Regions from separate parts of the Homo sapiens genome. Here region 1 is linked to region 2. The links are contacts of gene promoters, found by promoter capture Hi-C in human tissues and cell types (Jung and others, 2019). All regions are on one chromosome and are shown on one strand. The core of a region is centred on a gene start or on the middle of the fragment in contact, and the rest is flanking DNA. Distances in the headings are between cores, read along the strand shown.

Evidence for each region. The method cuts DNA at HindIII sites, captures the fragments that hold promoters and counts their contacts. A contact is called where the count stands out against the background at its distance.
Region 1: a contact is called between the fragment with the promoter of OR7D4 here and the fragment with the promoter of ZNF317 in region 2, in 1 of the 25 tissues and cell types used here (adrenal gland).

The regions. Positions count from the first base shown.
Region 1 is chr19:9,216,938-9,223,514 of GRCh38, reverse strand. It overlaps OR7D4 (olfactory receptor family 7 subfamily D member 4), which reads left to right and starts at 3,926. Exons shown (of 2, transcript NM_001005191.3): 1 at 3,926-4,315. It also overlaps a transcript of OR7E24 not described here. The HindIII fragment of the contact is 21,358 bases long and covers 2,513-6,577 here.
Region 2 is chr19:9,138,564-9,142,004 of GRCh38, reverse strand. It overlaps ZNF317 (zinc finger protein 317), which reads right to left and starts at 1,608. Exons shown (of 7, transcript NM_020933.5): 1 at 1,413-1,608. RefSeq lists enhancers at 1,586-1,795, 1,846-1,945. The HindIII fragment of the contact is 13,678 bases long and covers 1-3,441 here.

The sequences.
Region 1 (6,577 bases), core at 2,677-5,176, 79 kb before region 2:
TGGGCTTTGAAAGAAAATGATGAAACAGTGTAGACAGGTATGTAGATGGACATAGAGGACTGGATATGATAAATGAAAATATTTGTGTTGTATGTCACATAGGAGGCAGATAGGCATTCATTTTGCCACATAACATTTTCCAGCCTTTATCATTGGCCACCTGATGGTATGATGGCCTGATAAACAGAGTGGCCACAAGGGCTGATCCTCCCATTTGCAAAGATCCATTGAGCTGGTGCTGCTTCGGAATGTCCGAATGGTCAGCAAGAGACAATAGCAGAACACCCAGAGGGCCTTCTTTCTTGAGGAGACCAGCCAGCCAGGGGAGCAGGTTGACCACATGGGGCTCCTTCTATCTTGAAAAGACCAGCAGTTTATCCTCACAAGGATGGTGCAAATTATGCAAATTAAACAACAAGAAACATCAAACTCACAGAATGAAGAACAAAAGCCATATGACCATTTCTATAGATGCAGAAAAAAACATTTGACAAAAATTAACATCCTTTAATGATAAAGACTCAATGAGTTAGATATAGAAGGAATATACCTCAACATAGTAAAAACCACACACAAGAAACCCACAGCTAACATCACACTCAATGGGGAACAATTGAAAACATTTTATCTAGGGTCCAGAACAAGAAAGGAATGCCTGTTCTCACCACTTCTACTCAATATAGTAGTGGAAGTTCTAGCTAAATCAATTAGGTTAGAGAAAAAAAATAAAAGACATCCAAACTGGAAAGTAAGAAGTTAAGTTTTCCCTGTTTGCAGATGACATGACCTTATGTATAGAAAACTCTGAAGACTGCCAAAAACTGTTAGAACTAACAAAAAAGACTCAGTAAAGTTGGAGGATACATAATCGACATATAAAAATCAATAGTGTTTCTATATACTAACAGCAAACTACTCAAAAAAGAAATCAACAAAATAATCCTATTTATAATTGGTACCCCCAAAAATAGAATGCTTAGGAATAAATTTAACTGAGGAGGTGAAAAATTTGTACACCCAGAACTATAAAACATTGTTGAAAGAAATTAAAGAAGATACAAATAAATGGAAAGATATCCCATGTTCATGAACTGGAAGAATTGCTATATTAAAATGTCCATACTATCCAAAGCAATCTACAGATTTAATGCAAACCCTGTCAAAATTGTAAAAACATTTTTCACAGAAATAATTTTTGTGGAATCACTAAAGACACCAAATAGCTAAAGCAATGTGAGCCAAAATAACAAAGCTGGAGGCATCACACTACCTGATTTAAAACTATTTGACAAAGCTGTAATATCCAAAACAGCATGGTGCTGGCATAAAACTAGATACATAGACCAACTGAACAAAATATCAACCACAGAAATAAATCCATGTATTTATAGCCAACTGATTTTCAACAAAGGTGCCAAAGACTCACAAGGGGGAAAGGACAGTCTCTTTAATAAATGGTGTTGGGAAAACTGGATATCCAGGCAGAGAAGAATGAAATTAGGTATTTACTTCACACTATATACGAAAATCCATTCAAAATGGATTAAAGTCTTAAATGTAAAACCTAAAATAGAAAAGCTAGAAAATAACAAAAGAGGAAAACCTCATGATAGTGGTCTGAGCAGTGATTTTTTTGGATATGACCTCTGAAGCACAGACAACAAAAGCAATAGACAAATGGAATTACATTAAACTAAAAATCTCCACACAGCAAAGGAAACAGTAGAGTGAAGAGACAAACTACAGAATGGAGGAAAATATTTGCAAACTAGACATGTGATATGGGGCTAATATCCAAAATACGTAAGAAGCTCAAACAACTCAGTAGGAAGAAAACGACCCAATTTTAAAATGGGCAAAAGACAGCCTGGCGCGGTGGCTCACGCCTGTAATCCCAGCACTTTGAGAGGCAGAGGAGAGCGGATCACGGGGTCAGGAGATCGAGACCACCCTGGCTAACACGGTGATAACCCCGTCTCTACTAAAAATACAAAAAAGTAGCCGGGCGTCGTGGCAGGCGCCTGTAATCCCAGCTACTCGGGAGGCTGAGGCAGGAGAATGGCGTAAACCCGGGAGGCGGAGCTTGCAGCGAGCGGAGATCGCGCCACTGCATTCCAGCCTGGGTGACAGAGCGAGACTCCGTCTCAAAAAAAAAAAAAAAAAAAAAAAAAAAAGGGCAAAAGACCTGAAAGACATTTGTCAAAAGAAGACACACAGATGGACAACATACATTTTTTTTTTCTTGAGACGAGTCTCGCTCTGTCACCCAGGCTGGAGTGCAGTGGCGCGATCTCGGCTCACTGCAAGCTCCCCCTCCCGGGTTGAAGTCATTCTCCTGCCTCAGCCTCCCAAGTAGCTGGGACTACAGGCGCCCGCCACCACGCCCGGCTAATTTTTTGTATTTTTAGTAGGGACGGGGTTTCACCTTTAGCCAGGATGGTCTCGATCGCCTGACCCTGTGATCCGCCCGTCTAGGCCTCCCAAAGTGCTGGGATTACAGGCGTGAGCCACTGCGCCCGGCCCAACATACATTTTTAAAAGGTTTAACTTCACTAATCATCAGGGAAATGCAAATGAAAACCACAATGAGATATCACCTCACTTCATCTCAAATGGCTATTACTAAAAAGACAAAAGATAGTAAGTGCTGGCCAGGATATGAAGAAATGGAAACCCTTCTACACTGTTGGTAGGAATGTAAATTAGTACAACCATTATGGAAAAGAGTATGGAGGTTCCTCAAAAACTTAAAAATAGAACTACCATATGATCCAGCAGTCCACTACTGGGTATATATCAATAAGAAACGAAGTCAGTGTGTGGAAGGGATATCGCACTCCCATGTTTATTGGAGCATTATTCACAGTAGCCAAGACACAGAATCAACCTAGTTGTCTGCAAATAAATGAATGGATAAAGAAAATGTAGTATATATACACAATGGAATATGATTCATCCATAAAACACAAGGAAATCCTGTCATTTGCAACATGGATGAACTCAGAGAACATTGTGTTAAGTGAAATAAGGGAGGCACAGAAAGACAAATATCACATGATCTCACTCATATGTGGAATCTAACGAAGGTGATCTCAGAGAAATAGAATCCAGATTTCAAAGAAGTAGAATGTTGGTTACCAGACCCAGAGTGGTTTGGGGTTGAGGAGTAGTGTTGGTGTTGTGGAGATGTTAGTAAAAGAATACAAAATTACAGCTATATAAGAGAAGTAAGTTCAAGAGATCTATTGTACAGCAGGATGACTTTAGTTAATGATGATATATATGATATTCTTTGAAAATGCTAAGAGAGTGGATATTAAGTGTTCTCACCAGGATAACGACTCTGTGAGATAATGCGTATGTTAATTAGATACATTGAATGTCCACAATGTATATATATTTCCAAATATCAAGTTGTACATGATACATACATATAATTCTATAATTTAAAAAAATATATAAAAATAATTTGAAAAAATATTTAAAAAGAAAAGACATTTTTGTTTCCATGAATTTTCAACACCGAGGGATCCATAAAATCTCCAAAGACTCTTCAAGGGAGTCACATCGCTTGGAGATGATTCCTGAGTTTAGTTCCTTGCAGAAATTAATCTTTCCTTAGGGCAAAACTTGTGACTTTCAAATTAAACCGAAGAAAGAATTTCTTCTTGGGGGAAATAAATCCATCATGCCCTACCACTGCCTATTTCATCACAAAATTAACTGAAAAATTTCCATTCTATCATCTTCTTACTACTCAAAGGGAGCCAAACTCTTTGGAGAGTGGGAAGAAAATAGAACAATTTATTTAATAAGGTGCTCTGAGAATTCAACTCTTGAGACACTGGAAACTTAAAATGTGCCCCTGTTTAAACAACCTCACCTGTAATTCTCTGCTCCCAGCCTTTGGAAAAAACCCAGTACGGCTTCCTAGGAACAGATCGTGTAGAAGAGAAAACTTCAGTGATAACCATCAGAGTTAGTGTGACCCAGTGAGGGCTGGTGGGGTAAGAAGGAAAAGAGGAGAGAGAATAAGTACTAGCCTTCACAGTAATGAGCCTGGAAAGTCCCATACTTATTGAGTCTATGAAGGTGAAGTCCCTGTACTTTGATGGTACTTTAGTTTTCACAGAAACCAGTGTCTCCCACCTTCTGTTCTCACTCCTTGGAATCCAGGGCCCGTCTTTAATAAGTTATTTTCCGAACAGTCTCTAACTCTCCTGCACTCTTTCCTATAAACTTTAGTCTCCTGTTGAATTTCGTACATCCAGTTACTTATTCATTAACTACTCACGGAAGATCTACTATGCTCAAGGTATTGTCTATGTGTTCCTAATGTGATTGGATTTTTCTATTATATTCTATATTTTTCCTGGCAGATTATTGGTTACCAGACCCAGAGTGGTCTGGGGATTGGGGGTAGGGTTGATGTGGTGGAGATGGTGACTTATTTACAGCACTTACTAGCTGTTATGTTTTTGCTATTTCAACTTAGTATCCATGATATCATATAGAAATAATACAATTATTTCTGACATTCAACATGCAGTCCAATTTTTTTTCTCATATTAAAAATCCCTTGGCTGAACGTAGTGGCTCACATCTATAATCCCAGCACTTTGGGAGGCCGAGGCGGGCAGATCACTTGAGGCCAGGACCCTGAGACCAGCCTGGCTAACATGGCAAAACCCTGTCTCTACTAAACAATAACAAAAAAAGAAAGCCTGACACCTTAGCTTACACCTGCAATCCCAGTTACTCGGGAGACTGAGATGGGATAATTGCTTGAACCCAGGAGGCAGAGGTTGCAGTAAGCTGAGACTGCACCCCGCACTCCAGCCCAGGTGACAAAGTGACACCATGTCCCCCCCAAAAAAAAATCCATTTGCATGTTCACCAAAATATCAAAAGATTGAAATTGTAGTAGACGGCCTTTGGTGTATCCAGGAATTTAAACCCCTTACTGTTTTAACATAGCATATCTTGTTGCCTGTGGTATTAAAACAACCATTGTTTATCGGGTTAAGCAATTGTCCTTGGTTTCTTCCTTTATTGAGAGGATCTGCCCTGGTTGATAATCTTTTTCAAATGCATTTTTTCTATTGTGATTTTGTTTATGATTTCTCTTTACTGACCTGTTTTTGTGATGAATTATGCAGACATTCTTACATTAAACCTGCTTCCATTGTTAGAGCTGGTATTACTACTTCATTTATCATTATTTTAAAAGAGATATGAATATGTTATTTACTGTATTATTAAATTTATGTCTATATTCAAACATGTCTTAAACTTGAAGATTTCTATTTTGTGTTATAGTTGATGCTTTGGTCCCAGTCTTTATAGAACATTTCAATTTGTACTTGCTCAGAATCAGTAATGTGCTGGGCACCACGTAAATCCTTGTTAAATGATGAGACAAAACAATCGCAACCACTGTCTAAAACTAAATATAAGTTGACCAATGTGAAAGGGACAAGGAGGAAGAATATAGGATGTTCTATTTCTAGTCATCAAATACATATCCCGCTTTCATTCCCTGCTCCCCATCTCACTGGCATCTCAAATCCCTTCCTTTACAAGCTCAATGACCCATGGGACAATCTCGAATTCTCTTCTGTCAGCCTAGAAGATTTACCCTTTCCTTTCCTTACTTCCCCTAATTAACAATGATCCGGCCAGGTGCAGTAGCTCATGTCTGTAATCCCAGCATTTTGGGAGGCCGAGGTGGGCAGATCACTTGAGGTCAGTAGTTCGAGACCAGCCTGGCTAACAAGGTGAAACCCTGTCTCTACTAAAAATAAAAAAATTAGCTGAGCGTAGTGGCACACACCTGTAATCCCAGCTACTCAGGAGGCTGAGACAGGAGAATCGCTTGAACCTGGGAGGCAGAGGTTGCAGTGAACAGAGATAGCACCACTATACTCCAGCCTGGGCAACAGATCGAGATTCCATCTCCAAACAAACAAACAAACAAACCAATGATCCATTCTTCCTCTCTCAGCCCAAATTTTCCTATCTCAGAGAAGCCTCTTCTATCCACTTTCCAGGACTAAAGTTGGTCTTCAGTGATTATTTTTCCATCTTTAATTAATCAACATTCTCTAGGCATAAATAGTAACAACCTTTTTTCCATCATGAAAAATGCAAATTTTTTTTCAAACCTCAAAGTTGCCCTTTAGTTTTTTAGGATGATTTGATTTATAGAAATTTTTAAATTTTTATATCAAACTTATCAGTCACATTTCTTGGCAATTCATTGCCCTGATATTAGTCCAACATTCCCACTCAACTGCATGTGTACACAAGCACACATTCTCTCAGGCCTTGTCTTTGATTCTAATGGCGGTGTCCCTTTCTTTTCTCATCTTGTGTATGTAGTCCACAGGCTTTTGTTACTTCTTGGAGGAATACACTGGGCAGACATTCTCTGAAGCAGGGAAGCATAGGGATCTTCATGAGTTGAGAGTCCTGTGTGGTGGTCACAAGACGTAACAGACCTGTTGTATTCACAGTGATCAGAATTCCATCCTTGATGGCTGCCCCATGTAAGGGGGATATTGATATTGATAAATGA
Region 2 (3,441 bases), core at 359-2,858:
TTGAAACCCCATCTCCACTAAAAATACAAAATTTAGCTGGGTGTGGTGGTGGGTGCCTGTATTCCCAGCTACTCGGGAGGCTGAGGCAGGAGAACCGCTTGAACCAGGGAGACAGAGGTTGCAGTGAGCCGAGATTGTCATTGCACTCCAGTCTGGGCTACAAGGGTGAGACTCCATCTCAAAAAGGAAAAAACAACAACAACAACAAAAAACACTTTATTGAAAGGCATTAAAGAAGATGTAAATAAATGATGTAAATCAATTAACTGCAACTCAATGGCATAAAAACGACAATATTCCCAAAGTTCAAATATAGATTCACCACAACTTGAAAACAAAAGTCCAGTATGTGGAATTTGGTGAACTGACTAGAATTTAAGCCATGACATTCCTGAAAAAGAATGGCTAGGTGTAAGTACTTCATCTACAAGATATTTAGAAATCTCTAAATTACAAAGGTGTGCTTGAATCAATACAGAAAAAGATTGTTTCCAAAAATACTGAAGCGCCTGAGTTCATTCACAAATAATTACCAAAATTTAGGAAATATATTTTCTGGAAAAGATGTATACGCAGTCAAATCCACGGAGACAGTATTGGTGGGAGAGGAGGATGCAGTTTAGAAGAGGCACACAGCTTTCTGAGATTTAATAATCTCTTTCTTGGCCTGGTTTGTAAATTCGCTTTACTGTTGTCCTTTTAAGTGTGTGTAAGTCTGCGTGTGTGTGTAATCATACTTTTTTTGCATGTATGTCCTATTTTCCAGTGTTAAAATATGTGCATAGGAAAGGACACACCACAAAATAAGACGGTAAAATTCAATGGAAAATATTAATAATCACGATAAGTATAACTGGACTAACTCAAGTTAATTAACAAAATGTTGAACTGAATAGTAAATATACATATAGGCTATTTACAAGAGTCCACTAAAATTAAAATAAATAAAAAAGTGCAACCAGAAGGTCTTAAATTAAAAATATAAAAGGTACTCAAGGTAAGTGCTAATAAGAACACCAATGTGCTGACATTCACGAGATAAAATTGACTACAGCGCAGAAAGAAGGTGATTTCTCCTCGCGATGTCCAAATCCTGACGCCCCCCAATCTCCTGAACTGCCCCCAAACTCTTGAATTCACTTCAGCCGGGCTTTTCCGCCCCCACCAGAGACTTAGGGCTTTTCAGGATCAGGTGACCAATGCTTCTCTCATCACTAGCTGCAATGGTCCAATTTTATCCTTCGCGTCCCCAGCTTTTCATATCGCTGATCGCGAGATCTAAACGCACCCCTCGTCTGGATGCCTAGCTCTTTAGCCCCCGACCCTCGTACCCTCTTAGTCCTCACCGCCAGATAGGCCTCCCGTGACCCCTGGAACTGAGGGGGAGAAGGGTTAAGGAAAGCAGGGCTTACACGACTGGGAATAGGATCGGGGGAGCGGAGGTGACGGAAGCCGCCGCCGATGCGAAGAGAAGTTCATACGGGAGGTCCAGTCTGGCGTGGGGACACGAGGGGTCCCCAACAGGCCGAAAGAATTCGCCGCTGACCCCTCCTTGGCCCATGTGTCTCGGGGCAATCGACTCCAGAGAGTAATGGCTTCCGCTTCACTGCCGCCTTCCAATTCTCGCGGGACTTCATTGGCGGCGTCTAATACGGAAGCGGGGCGGAGAGGATGCTGGGAATTGTAGTTTTGAAGTTTGGATTGGCATGGCGGCCGTGCCCCGGTGGAATCTGACGGTCCAGCATATTTCTCCAATTTCTACTCAAGACTCAAATTTTCAACCACAACCCACAGCATTTTGTAGCCATCGTAGTGGTAAAGGTTGAATCAGGCAAGAATTGTCATCTACATGACACAACTGGGGGACATTTGCATGACGAGCAGAATATTTGAATTGCCTTAAATGCCTCTCTATAAACTGCTCGTATGTTGGAATGGAGAAAAAGTAATAGAAATTGTACAGCGAAGAAATTGGACAACATCTGGACCAGGTGATCAAATCAATATCACCAGTGAGGGTCAGATGGAGACCACGTGCCTCTGAATGACACCTTGGGAAGGGCGTAAAATCACCATCACCTGTGTGGTGTTCATCCTGCATATCTGCTATTTTGTATTTTTTGACCCACATCTTCCCATTTTCTTCCCCAACTGCCTCATTCTTTATTTCTGTGTATTTGAGCTGTCTCTCTTGATTAAAAAAAGTTCCTCATGTAAGTGACGTCATGCAATATTTTTCTTTTTGTGTCTGGCTTATTTCACTTAGCGTAATGTCCTCCAGGTCCACCCATCTTGTGATAAATGTCAGGACCTCCTTCTATTTCAAGGTTGAATAATATTCCGTTATATATATTATATGTTTTATACAATGGAATATATATTATATCATATTTATTATAATTATGTATTATGTGTATTATTACCGTATATTATATAATATATGCTAAAATAATATATGTATGTATGTTATATATATTATGGAATATATATTATATATAATATATATTATTTTAGCAGGAGGAGTCTGCATATACAAAATTCCAGAATCAGGCTGGGTACAGTGGCTCACACCTGTAATCTCAACACTTTAGGAAACCAAGGCTTCCCATGTAACCAGTAGGGGCAGAATTATATAGGCAGGAGAGACAGATGGTTAGTATTATCCAGGGCAGGTATTATAAAAGACAGAGAGAAGGAAATTTGAGGTTTTGGAAAATATATTATTGAGGGGATGGACCATGGTGCGTATATATATATATACACACACATATAAAATGTATGTATGGAATATATATGGATATAAGATATTCATATATAATATATAATCTATATTACATAACGTAATATATATTTCATAATACATAATATATACACCATAATATATAGCATATATACATATAATAATACATATAATATATAATATGTATTTCATATAGTATATTATATACATATATTACATATAATATATTACATGATATATAACATAATGGGAATATCTATTATGTAATAGGTATATATTTATATACAACATATTATATTAATATTTAATATAATATGAAATATATATCAATATTATATGATATTAATGTTGACATCATATATAAATACAAAAGAGATAGAATATTATTCAGACTACATAGCTGCTATTTTGTATTTCGTATTCATGTGAGCATCAATGGACATTCAGGTTGTTTCCGTAACTTGGATATTGTAAATAATGCTACAATGAAAATGAAAGTGCAGACATCGTTATGAGGTGATTATTTCATCTCTTTTAGGCATATATTCAAAAGAGGAATTGCTGGGTCATATAGTAGTTCTGTTGTAGATTTCTTTAAGAGCCTGAATACTGTTTTCCACAAAGGTTGTACCAGTCTGCATTCCCACCAACAATGTACTAGGGTTCACTTTGCTTGATGCCCTCGCCAACATTCATCTCTC